Regions from separate parts of the Homo sapiens genome. Here regions 1 and 3 are each linked to region 2. Evidence: promoter capture Hi-C in human tissues and cell types (Jung and others, 2019). All regions are on one chromosome and are shown on one strand. Each heading gives the region's core, a stretch centred on a gene start or on the middle of the fragment in contact. The rest is flanking DNA. Distances are from core to core; before and after follow the strand shown.

The links. Contacts are between HindIII fragments. The study calls those that stand out against the background at their distance.
Region 1: a fragment that was not itself captured here is called in contact with the fragment with the promoter of SLC1A1 in region 2 in 1 of the 25 tissues and cell types used here (lymphoblastoid cells).
Region 3: a contact is called between a fragment that was not itself captured here and the fragment with the promoter of SLC1A1 in region 2, in 1 of the 25 tissues and cell types used here (dorsolateral prefrontal cortex).

The regions. Positions count from the first base shown.
Region 1 is chr9:3,473,220-3,477,637 of GRCh38, reverse strand. All of the region lies in intron 1 of RFX3 (regulatory factor X3), which reads left to right. Among named protein-coding and RNA genes, the nearest start is that of RFX3, 51 kb to the left of the region's middle. RefSeq lists an enhancer at 1,887-2,036. The HindIII fragment of the contact is 4,823 bases long and covers 1-4,418 here.
Region 2 is chr9:4,488,715-4,493,059 of GRCh38, reverse strand. It overlaps SLC1A1 (solute carrier family 1 member 1), which reads right to left and starts at 2,592. Exons shown (of 12, transcript NM_004170.6): 1 at 2,290-2,592. The coding sequence starts at 2,380. It also overlaps a transcript of GLIS3 not described here. RefSeq lists a silencer at 2,365-2,794 and an enhancer at 2,945-2,994. The HindIII fragment of the contact is 11,033 bases long and covers 1-4,345 here.
Region 3 is chr9:3,411,082-3,414,965 of GRCh38, reverse strand. All of the region lies in intron 1 of RFX3 (regulatory factor X3), which reads left to right. Among named protein-coding and RNA genes, the nearest start is that of RFX3, 110 kb to the left of the region's middle. The HindIII fragment of the contact is 5,241 bases long and covers 1-3,884 here.

The DNA.
Region 1 (4,418 bases), core at 1,076-3,575, 1.0 Mb after region 2:
AAAGTGATCCATACCTAGACCCATCATAGTTGAATTTAAAGAAAAATCTTGAAAGTAGCAGGAGAAAAATGACTTGTTACAAGGAATCCTCAATAGGCTTAATAGCTGACTTACGAGAAACCCTGGAGGCTAGAAGACATTTTCAACATTGAAAGTAAAAGACTGTCAACCAGTAATTCTCTATTTAGCTAAACTTTTCTTCAAAACTGAAAGTGAAATTAAGACGTTTCCAAATAGATAAAAACTGAAAGGATTCTCACGAACTCTAAGAAATGTTAAAGGGAGTCTTTCAGGTTGAAATGAAAGGACACTTAATGGTAAATTTTAATCCGTGTGAAGAAATAAAGAGGAATGGTTAAAGGTAACTACAGGCATTATGAAAGACATGTACAAATAGATTGAATAATAGATTGAAGTTTTTGTTAGGGATAGGCTCTAAATCCATGTCTTTTGTATAGTATAAATTGTGATTCTGTATTGGAATTATACTTTGCTGTCTGGAGAAGTGTTTATAAAAGTAATGAAAATTTTGGTTTCAGGTAAAACAAAAATTAGAACAAAAATTATACTGAAAATAATTATTACATAAATTTTGAATGATAACTATGAGCTAGTGACATATATGTATTACATCATTTTCTCATTACAATATCTCACTAGGGTGTGTTATCTAGATTTTATAGATGGGGAAAATTGAATTAAGAAAGAAAGTGACTTGCCCAAGGTCATTTAAGTAGTAAGTGGTGGAGCTAGGATTTGAGCTGTGGTCTGTTTAACACTAAAGCCCAAGCTTTTAAATACTGCTTTACACCTTAATATCCGGTGCTTTAATATTCTTGGCCTTCTTTCAAAAACTTCCCTCTTCCTGTCAATTCCAATAAATGCGTTTTTGTTTGTAACATTTTTTTCTCCAGTTATTTAAAACACAACTGAATAAAGCAATTCTTATAAAGTTGTATTGATGGGCTTATGATACATAAAAGATGGATTCCTTCATAGTTTTACAGATATGGTTCTCTTCTGGAATTTATAATACAACATGAATGCATCACTACCTTATAAGGCAGAGATAAGGTGCTGTTTGTCTGTGCCTCTAGTTTCTAAAATTGACTTGGTTTAATGGCATCATCTTAATGGTGATTGCTGTCACTGAGCTACTTCATCTCTTCCCCTGTTTTCAAGCAGTCCATAAATACTAAACTTTGCATCAATGCTGATAAACTAGCTACCTTCCAGTGCCCTATATTTGATGATCCTCTCTTGGCACTTAATAAGTTCAGCTTATAGATGATGTTTATGATTATATTCTGTGGGCAGCAAGCCATCCAGATGCCGAGGCAAGAGACCAGGGGCACGAGTTGTTCCAGTGTAATAAAGAACATAAAACAACAAGAGTTATACTAGATCTACATAGACATGATTATATATGAATATCATATGAATTATATGTATATATTATATATATTATATATGAGTATCATTAATCATTTGTAGCAATTACTCTTTATGCCAATATTATAATAATACTCGCTCTATAATCATAACCTAGGAAAAACTAGGCCATACAGAGATAGGAGCTGAGGGGACATAGTGAGAAGTGACCAGAAGACAAGAGTGTGAGCCGTCTGTCATGCCTGGACAGGGCCACCAGAGAGCTCCTTGGTCTAGCGGTAACGCCAGCGTCTGGGAAGATGCCTGTTGCCAAGCAGACTGTGGTCTAGTGGTAGCGTCAGTGCGAAGGGAAAACACCTACTACTTAGCAGACTGGGAAGGGGAGTCTCCCTTTCCCCAGGGGAGTTTAGAGAAGACACTCTACTCCACCTCTTGTGGAGGGCCTGACATCAGTCAAGCCTGCCCACAGTTATCTGGAGGCCTGACTGTCTCCCTGTGATGCTGTGCTTCAGTGGTCACCCTCCTAGTCCACTTTCATGTTCCATCCTGTACACCTGGCTCTGCCTTTTAGGCAGCAGTAGCAAAATTAGTGAAAGTACTAAAAGTCTCTGATATGCAGAAACAATATTGTAATATTATGCAGAAATAATAGCGTATGCTATTGCATACGCTGTATATGCGATATGCAGAAATAGTAGCATAAGCTGTCCTCTCTCTCTCCCTCTCTCTCTGTCTGCCTTGGCTGCCAGGCAGGGAAGGGCCCCCTGTCTAGTGGACATGTGACTCATGTGACCTTGTCAATCATTGGAGATGACTCACACTCCTTACCCTTCCCCTTTTGCCTTGTTTCCAATAAATAACAGCACAGCCTGGCATTCGGGGCCACTACCGGTCTCTGCGTCTTGGTGGTTGCGGTCCCCCGGGCCCAGCTGTCTTTTCTTTTATCTCTTTGTCTTGTGTCTTTATTTCTACAATCTCTCGTCTCTGCACACGGGGAGAAAAACCCACTGACCCTGTGGGGCTGGACCCTACAGTGTTCAAGATGAAGATATAATGCTTATAAGCATCCATTTATAACTGTTTATAGTTGGCAACCTACCTTCCTTCCTTCCTTCCTTTTTCTTTTTCTTTCTTTTTTTTTTTTTGGAGACAGGGTCTTGCTCTGTTGCCCAGGCTGTTAGTGCAGTGGCACAATTATAGCTCACTGCAGCCTAGATCACCTGGGCTCAAGCAATCTTCCTGCCTCAGCCTCCCGAGTAGCTAGGACTATAGGCATGTGTCACCACACCCAGCTAATTTTTTACTTTTTGTGGAGATGGGATCTTCCTGTGTTGCCCAGGCTGGTCTTCAACTCTTGGTTGCCTCAAGTGATTCTCCTTCCTTGGCCTCCCAAAGTGCGGAGATTACAGGCATGAGCCACCATACCTGGCTGCTAGTTTGGTCATTTTCTGTTTCACAGACATTTAGATTGATTAGGGTTCTAATGGTGTATTGTTGCAAACCTGTCTTTGATTCTTTTAAAGATTATACTGCAATATTTTGTGGTTTGGGCAAATAAGCACTGTTTCTGGAGACAAATCTGTATTCAGAGTCTTGGCTGCCACTTGTTGGCTGACTTACTTTTAGATATGTTTCTTCTGAGTCAGTAATCTCATCTATAAATTGGAGACAGTGATACTAAACCTTTTAACTTTAATTTTAAAAGCGTCATTGATATTATGAGCTTCTATGAGTTTGTGTTTCGGGGAAGTCTTATAACCAATGAGACAATCACGGAATTTCCTTCTTGCAAATGGTGTAGGTAAAGGAACTTTGAAACTTCAGTGGTACTTTCATAGTCTGTATTTGACAAGGGATCTTTTCTGATGAGATTGGTTCTTGTAGTTTGACTGTTAATAGAAAAAGTTAAAACAGTAGGTCATAAAAAGTGCTGCATACTTCTCACTAACATTTTAACTTGAAATGTGCAAAATGTATAAATAGACTGTTTTTGTGACTAGGACCAAGGGCCTTTTTTTCAATATAGGCTTGCTGATTGGAACTGCAAGTCTTATATAAATCTACATCTATAACAAGTCATATCCAGTTTATGCTTTATTTCTTTAATATAGATTAAAAAATTGAGACACTTGCAGAGCAGTGGTTCTCAAAGTGTGGTTCCCAGCCCAGCAGCCTCAGCATCATGGGAATTTCATAGCATGCAAATTCTTTGGTTTTACTCCAGACCTACTGAATCAGAAACTATGGAAGGTGGGGCTCAGTATTCTATGCTTGGCTTCCATGCTACATTTTCAGAAACATTATATTCTATATTTTATTATTTTTCCCAGGTTTAAAAATATTTCTCTTATCTTTGCCTATTTCAACAGCAGTATTTTGCAGTGACTTGCCTTTATCAAGTCTTTTCAATGCGTTTGACTTAGTTTTTAAAGATACAAGACCTTTTATTTTTGCTTTTATGGTTTATGTGATATTTAATTAAATTAGCTAATTACAATAACAATAAAACTCCCCTGTTGAGGTTTTGGAACAAATATTGTTCTGAGTGAATATACAGCTCAGCAGTTGGGAGCAGAAGTGTTGAGGGGCATGCTAGAGAGACTCCTGCAGGCTGTGAGTTTTCAGTATTCTGTGGGCATCTGTCAGTATGGTTAAAGAGGAAATGAACAATGTGGGTTTACATAGCAAGCTGGGTAAGTGAAGCTTGATCAAGAGAGCTTCTCATGTGTATTATTCTATGTAGGCTTATATATTTCTTGGATCCATTTATCTTTATAACCCCTAATTCAGTACGCATGTTTTAGACTTTTGTTAGTCTGTAGGTAGTCTTCTTGGCTAGACCCCAGAGTTAGAAATATGTTTTTAGTGATTTTCAGATCTCTCAGTTCAGTATTGTGGAGAAATAAGAGAACCCAGTAGTTCATATGAAAAATATGTGCCTGTTATTATGACACCAAAGGGGAAACTCTGTAGCAGCTAATACTTGAAGTAGAAAACAGATGGAAATCTTCTTCTCTAGCCTAAGA
Region 2 (4,345 bases), core at 1,343-3,842:
AAGGCCATGTCTGCAAAATGAGCATGTACTTCTTCTTATTCACGCAACTGATTCCAAAGGCCAGGGAACAATTGCTTAAAACCTTCTCCAAACCAGTCTCCAGTGAATCGCATGCTGACGAGTGGTGTGCAACACTTGGGTAGCAAGTGAGTATCTCTGGAGAGCCCCATGCTGAAAAGGCAGGATAACTCCACTTCCACAGGGAATCAGGAGGGAGACTCAAGCCAATGTTTATCCTGCAAAGTCTTTTTTTTTTTTCTTTTTAGACAAGGTCTCATTCTTGTTGCCCAGGCTGGAGTGCAGAGTCACGATCACGGCTCACTGCAGCCTCGACCTCCCTGGGCTCAGGTGATCCTCCCACCTCAGTCTCCTGAGTAGCTAGGACTACAGATGTGCACCACCACGCTAATTTTTGTACTTTTTTGTAGAGATGGCATTTTGCCATGTTGCCCAGGCTGGTCTCCAACTCCTGGGCTCAAGCAATCCTCCTTCCTTGGCCTCCCAAAATATTGGGATTATAGGTGTGAGTCACCGTGCCTGGCCCTCTAAAAGTCCTTTTCCTTTTTTTTTTTTTTTTTTTGGTGGATTCTTGCTCTGTCACCCAGGCGGGAGTGCAGTGGCACAATCTTGGCTGACTTCAACCTCTGCCTTCTGGGTTCAAGCAATTCTCCTGCCTCAGCCTCCCGAGTAACTGGGGTTATAGGCATGAGCCACCTTGCCCTGGCATCTCTCAGTCTTCAAAAAGAGATTTAACAATTAATCCTCGACTCTTATCACTAGGAAAACAAACAAGGCCATCTCTTCTCTTTGGCCTAAAGGAAATCAAGTCGTTCTTTGTAGCGTATGCTATTTAAATATGGTAGAGTAGGATAAACTTTCCCTTAAAAATGTTCAAAACCGAAAAAAAAAAGTTCCAAAACCACTTGGCACTTCTTGGGGGAAATAGTCAAGATTTGCTTCTGTACTTCTCTCCTTTCCTCCTACAAATAGCCTCTGCTAGGGCCATTCCAGGATGTTATTTATTTACTAGAAACCTGACTTTCCTTTCCCCAAGGTTCTGGAGAATCCAATCTGACCCCAAGAATCCCATTAACTTCCAAAGGCCATTTCCATGCCCTATCCCCACCCTGAGGGGAGGGGGCGGTTCGGAGGAGAAGCAAGCAACACCATATATTCTGAGATTTAGGAGCAGCAGTTGGAGAGGAAGGTACCTGAGGTTGGGAGGAAACAAGCTGTCCCCACTTGCCTTTTCAGCAAACACAGCTGCAGTTTCCAAGGGGAAGGTGGAGCCTGCCGAGGAATCCACATTCCTCAGAGGGTGCAACAGCCCTCACCTGCTGAGGAGCTATCACTGGGAAGGCGACAGATATGGCGCTAATCCCAAGGAAGTGCATCCCCGGGCCGGAGCTAGAAACACACAACCTTGGTAAAAAATCAGAATCTAAATAGGAATAACTCATACCTCTGAGCAATGGCTCAGACATCCACCTGGTCCAGTGATCTGTGAGGGGTGGATCACTTAAATACACCCTTGTTTAAAAACAGGCAAGGATGGCTTAAACATTATCTTAAATACAAAAACAACGTGGAGAGCAAGGAAGGCAGGAGAAGAGACGGCTGAGTTCTCTTAGCTCTCTTCCCCGGTGACCTCCCGCGGGCCACAGTGGCACATCCCAGAATTCAGGCACGAATCTGGCAGCTTTTCAGAGCCCGGGTGCAGGCAGTCGGCGCTCGCCGCGTGGGAAGGCACCTTTCCACGCACTGCCCAGGATGAGCGGCGACAGCGTTCTCAGCCTCCCTCCCCTAAGGGTCCGGCCCATCCCGGAGGCCAGGGTGCCTCTTCCAATTCGACTGAGAACTGTAATCCACACTCAATCTCTGCCCGCGCAGCGAGGCTGGGGGTGTGGGGTGAGGAAGGTGGCGGTGATAGGGGGAGATACGGTGCGGGATTAACAAAGAAAAAAATCGAACCCTGTTTTCAAACGAGCAGAACCAAGAGCTACTTGCTTCCCTTTCTACCCCCAAGCCCCTTTGATCATTTTGGGTAGAGCAGGAACCAGCAGCTCAAGGAGCACTCAAATGGGAGTCCCAGAGGAGCTTTGTTCTTGGTGTGCAGTAATTAGAGCGCTTGGGGGAAAGCCCCCGCAGGGGGCCCGAGGCTAAGGCCGAGGGGGCATCGAGGGACCCTGCATGGAGTGCGCCAGCGCCAAGCCCACCCTCAGCCGCACGCGGCCTGGGCGCAGAGAGCGCGTGAGGGTGCGCGCATCGCCCACCCGCCGCGCCGCTCACCTAGCACCACCGCGGCCACGGTGGACAGCAACACCCAGTTATTCTTCAGGAAGCGCTTCCACTCGCATCCTTTCCTCGCCGGTTTCCCCATGGCTGTCGCCGCTATTGTGCGCTGGGCTCGGCCGTGCGCGCGTGGGCTGGGCGACCCGGGGACTGCTGGCTGCTCGGCGGCGCGGCGAGATGCGGGTGCACAGGGGAGAGGTGAGAGCCGGCCGCTGCAGTCGCCGCCGTCACCACCGCCGTTGCCGCCGCCACCCGGGATCGCGCACCGCGCCCGCCGCCCTGCCAGCCCGGTAGTTTTGCGTGGCAGGCGCGCCCGGCTCCTCCTGCTGCCGCCGCGCTCTGCGGCGCCTGGGCCAACCAGCGAGGAAGGAGGGAGGAGCGGCAGGCCCGGGAAGGAGGGTGGGTGCGTGCGTGGGACGCCCGGGGTCCCTAGGGAGCAGGCGTGGTAGGGCGCCCAGCGCTGCGGCAGGAGCTGGGGCGGCCTCTCCGGGAACCCTGAGTCCCGCCCCACAGCCTTCCACTGGAGTCTGTCTCGCTTTCCACGCCTCACTCATGCTAGGGCTTTGGGTTAAGGGTTTTCTTCTGTCCCTAACCCAGAGAGGCGGAGCCACTGCCCTCCTGGGCGCGGACTTCATCCTGCACGTCTCCCTCTCCGTTCTCCACACCAGCTATTTCCAGCGCCGGCACCTGCAGAACGGGTGCCCTTTCAAGTCGGGGGAAGCTGATCCTGCCTTGGGTCCCTCTTGCTCGGCTACTCAGGCTGGGATGTGCCAGCAGCCGCGAAAGCCTGAAGCTTCTGGGAGGAGAGAAAGGAGTCCTGGGGCAGAACATGGCTTTGGAAACTTTCACGCGGAGCCTCCAGTGCCCCCACAGGGATTATTCTCCTCTTCGAGTCGCTGGAGGTGATTTGTCTGTGGACACTGGGCTTGGGAGTGTTCCCTGCACAAGGAGATGGTGATTTCTCTTAGAACTTTACTTCTGCTCCTTGGGACTTGCTCTGTGACCACAGGCCCTGGAGCATGGAGGCTTGGGGCAGTGATTAGAACTGAGAACCGGACCCGGGAGCCGCTCTGGGGAGAAAGTGGGCGGTCCATCCCCTAAGGTCCAACGGATTGGAAAGGCAAACACAGGAGAAACTAGGTTAGTGGTGCCAAATATATTTGGTGTTGCTAAGTGAATTTCTGATGCTCTTCCATTTTTCTACCCAATTTTTTCACTCTCACGTATACAATCTCTTTCCCTCCCTTTACCAAATCAGTACCTCCGCAGCTGTAAGCGGTCTTCTTATCAGCGTTCCTAAAGTTAAGTGAGCCTGGAACCCTTTTTGCTATTGTAGAATCTACTCTGATTGTGGGTAGGGAGAATTTCCCCTACTAGATTTTCTGATGACTAAATCCCCACAATTAGAGCTTCATCCCTTTGGTGTAAATTGATACAAGCATCTTTTAAGCGATAATAGATTAAGATTTACAACCCTGTAGACTTTAGTATGAATGAGTTTATCAGCTCTTTATAGAAAGTAAACTTTGAGAGAAAGAAGGTTAGAGGGATTTTAAGGTCGTTGGGTGTCCGAGGAAGATCTGAAGAAATGTCAGAAGGGGACCCGGGTGCGGTGGCTCTTGCCTGTAATCTCAGGACTTTGGGAGTCCGAGGCGAGCGGATCACGAGGTCAGGAGATTGAGACCATCCTGGCTAACACAGTGAAACCCCGTCTCTGCTAAAAATACAAAAAAATTAGCCGGGCGTGGTGGCACGTGCCTGTAGTCGCAGCTACTTGGGAGGCTGAGGGAGGAGAATCGCTTGAACCTGGAAGGTGGAGATTGCAGTAAGCTGAGATCAAGCCACTGCGCTCCAGCCTAGGCGACAGAGCGAGACTGTCAAAAAAAAAGAAAAAAGAAAGAAAGAAGGAAGGAAATGTCAGAAGGGAAACTATCAAGAAAGGGAGAATAGTCCCGGGCGCGATGGCTCACACCTGTAATTCCAGCAATTTGGGAGGCCAAGGCAGGCGGATCACTTGAGGTCAAGAGTTCGAGACCAGCCTGGCCAACATGGG
Region 3 (3,884 bases), core at 841-3,340, 1.1 Mb after region 2:
ATATATACACACACATATATGTGTATATATATACACACATATGAGTATATATGTGTGTATATATACTCATATATATACTTATATATACTCATATATATACATATATACTCATATATACTTATATATACTCATATATACATATATACTCATATATACATATATACTCATATATACTCATATATACATATATACTCATATATACATATATACTCATATATACTCATATATACATATATACTCATATATACATATATACTCATATATACTCATATATACATATATACTCATATATACATATATACTCATATATACATATATATACTCATATATATATACACTCGTATATTGCAGTAGATACTACTAGCATATATATATATACCACATTGCAGTAGATACCACTAGCATATATATATACACACTCATATATATACACACACACACATATATATATACTCTTATATATGTATATACACATATATATATGTTAGTGGTATTTACTGCAGTGTGCCCTTTTGGTAGGACAGCAAATATGTCTTTGGATCTTTCAACTAGTATGAATAATGAAAGCTAACTCTATTGTGTTTTTAATTTCTCACTGATTTTGCAAGATAATGACTTTACTCTTAAGATTGACATTCTCATAACTGTTGAATATTTCAAATATGGAACACAAATTTTGTTTCTTTTAACTTGGAAATACAGAAAACATTAAAAGTATTGTAAGCAGACTGGAATATGGCAGGAGCATAGCCTTTACAGTCAGATGTAGTTCCATGTGTGTCCTAGTTTTGTCTTTTGCCAATGTTGAGCTCTTAGGAAAAGTATTTGATCTTTCTGGAACTCAGTGTCCCATTTCAATAAAGTACTCAACCAACACACACATAATTTTCACACAAGGTTGTTGTGAAAATTAAAGTATTAAGTTTATTAGCAGATATGTGGTAGGTGTTCAATAAATAGCAGCTTTTAAAATTTTTAATTGGATGTAACAGAGGAGGTAAAGATGAAAGAAGACAATCTTGATTTATTGGGAGAATTTCTAAGTACCAAACACTAGCCTTACCATTCTTCATGTTATCTAGGTGGAGAGTATAATTTTTTTCTTTTCCTGATTTATTACTTAGTATTCATCCTCCCACACTGGGATATTATTCAAAAAAGCATAAAGGGTTTTTCACTTGCAGCCTTACTAAGAGTTGTCAAGAGAACTGCTACACTGCAGAACTTAGCTTATATTTGCTCCAACTGTCTCTACTCAAAAGGTGTTAAAGCAATGAACTGTTAGGGTGAATTTCACATTCAGGAAGCATTTGTTCCTTGTCTTCAGAGCAAGGAGAAAGAAACAGGGATGAATTCTTTAAAGAAACTGTGTCTAGGATCTGCAGTAGTTTTAGATATTTTTCTTTATTGAGGTTTTTGTATTGTCTTGTTAAGTTAAACTGAAACATGAAAAGAGCATAATCTAAATACTAAAGGTGGGCCATTTAAAAATAAAATAAAAGTGTTCACTTCTTAGCAACTTAAACAAATCATAAGCTATAGTATGATGTTCCTAAAATATTAAACTCCCATATGAAAATAGTTTGATTGTATATCCTTGAGAAGGAACATAAATTACCTAAATTATGAATTGTTTATTAAGTCTTATAGTATTTCATAAAACAATTTATCAAGTAAATTGAATGCACTGAAAGAGTTCTACTTGGTATACATTACAGTATGCTTTAACAAGTATTTTAATATTTTCTTAGGAAGATGCTGATGTTTCTATTTGGGAAATTTGGATTAAAAGCTGGGACTAGTATCCTTAGGAGAATAGGTTGTAACTGAAAAAAAAAAATCGATCTTGCTATAAAATGACAATTTTGTAAAAATTTCTGTTTATTTCTCAAGGAGAGAGGTTTTTTGGTTTTTCCTGTTAAATTGAGAAAATTTTCTATATTAAAGGCTGTGCTTTAACCAATTAAAGAAGTGTGATTTTTAGACTCAATATAAAACATATTAGAATCTTATTTTCTGAAGTAACCCTGTTCTCTATAGTTATTGATTTTTATTCAGCTCACATTAAATAATAAACAGGTTTTCAACATTGGTGGTAGCTTTATTAATATTCAATTTGGAAGAAACATGAATTTACCAGTAGAATTGCCAGCATCAATAATTTTTAAAAGTAAGAAATTTGCAGTTTTTTTCTGGTCATTCAAAGCTAGTTATAAGTTTCCCTTTCTTTCTAAGAATAACTGTAACAGAATTGGTATGCTTAAAAAGTGGACAGAATCCTATTATTTTAAGCCAGGTGATAGCTTTTACTGCAACCATGTTGCATCTCCTGAAACTACCCTAAGCTTCAGGAAATGCCAGCTTCACCCTTTGCACCTTTCTTTTATAAACTTTTACTAACATATTTACCTTAGGAAGATGATATTTTTGTTTAGAGCCCTCTCAAGAAGAAAAAAATAACTAAATGAATTAATATATCTTTATTAAATGGTTTGAAGCCTTTCTTTTACTTCTCTATAGATAATTACTATTTATTTACTTGAAACGAAAATAGCATTATCTTTGAGTCAACTTAAGAGCTCAATTCTATAATTCATAACATTCCTTATAAAATGGTGTGGTAGAGCTTCATTATGGATATTCAAACAGATCATGGCACTAACCATGACTCAAGGTCACCTTGATGGCCTGTCCAACCTTAGAGTCTGTGAGCTTACATTTCTCTGAACATAGATAAAGTAAAGTAATACAACATGATTAGTGTTGACCTTTAGTGGTCTTATTATGAAGTAGTTCTACTGTACTTTGGAAAGTACAAGCCAGGAATACTCAAATCAGATACTGATCTGATTTCACAGTAAGCTTTGTTTTGAGACACTGAATATTTTGGCCATGTGGCTTACGTCTAAGTACTGAAAATAGCTTAGCTGTTATTTTTGATGCCCATAATGTTTAAAATGGTGTGAATATAAGATCCTATGGATAATGTTACGAGTAGTTGTCCAGATGTGTGAAAATAATTTCAAAGAAGAAAATGATACAATTAAGCTGCACTCCTGACTCAGCTTATATATGTAGAGTATTTTGGAGGGGCTGTTGTGTAGCCAGTGTTTGACTATGGGGCTGACTAGGTCCGTATAATTGGAGGTGGAGGAAAGGTAGAGAAGGGAACAAGAGGCCTGCGCAGTGGCTCACACCTGTAATCCCAGCACTTTGGGAGGCCGAGGCAGGAGGATCACTTTAGGTCCAGAGTTCTAGACCAGCCTGGCCAACATGGTGAAATCCCCTCTCTACTAAAAAAAAAAAACACACACACACAAAAATTAGCTGGATGTGGTGTCACACACCTATAATCCCAGCTACTCGGGAGGCTGGGGTGGGAGGATCACTTGAACCCAGGAGGCGGAGGCTTCCCGGGCTGAAACCCTGTCTCTACTAAAAATACAAAAATTAGCCAGTCTGGTGGCGGGTGCCTGTAATCCCAGCTACTTGGGAGAATTCCTTGAACCTGGGAGGTGGAGGTTGCAGTGAGCCGAGATCATGCCACTGCACTTCAGCCTTGGCAACAGAATGAGACCCTGTCTCAAAAAATAAATAAATAAATAAAAAAGAGGAGAGAAAGGAGCAAGGGAGAAAGGGGGAAAGAAAGACACAGAGCGAGGAAGATGGACTGGGTTGCTCTCCTACATTTAAAAAAATTCCATTGCTGTCTTAATTGAAAAAGAATTTATGTATTCATTGTTGAGTAAACCTTATAAGGAAAGGGAATATAATTTTCATATGCAAATAACCTTTCCGTTTTATTTAGAAAACACCGTCCTTATAAATTTGGTTTGTGAGAAAAGTGGCTCCATGGATCATGAGAAGTAATCAGCTCATATTTG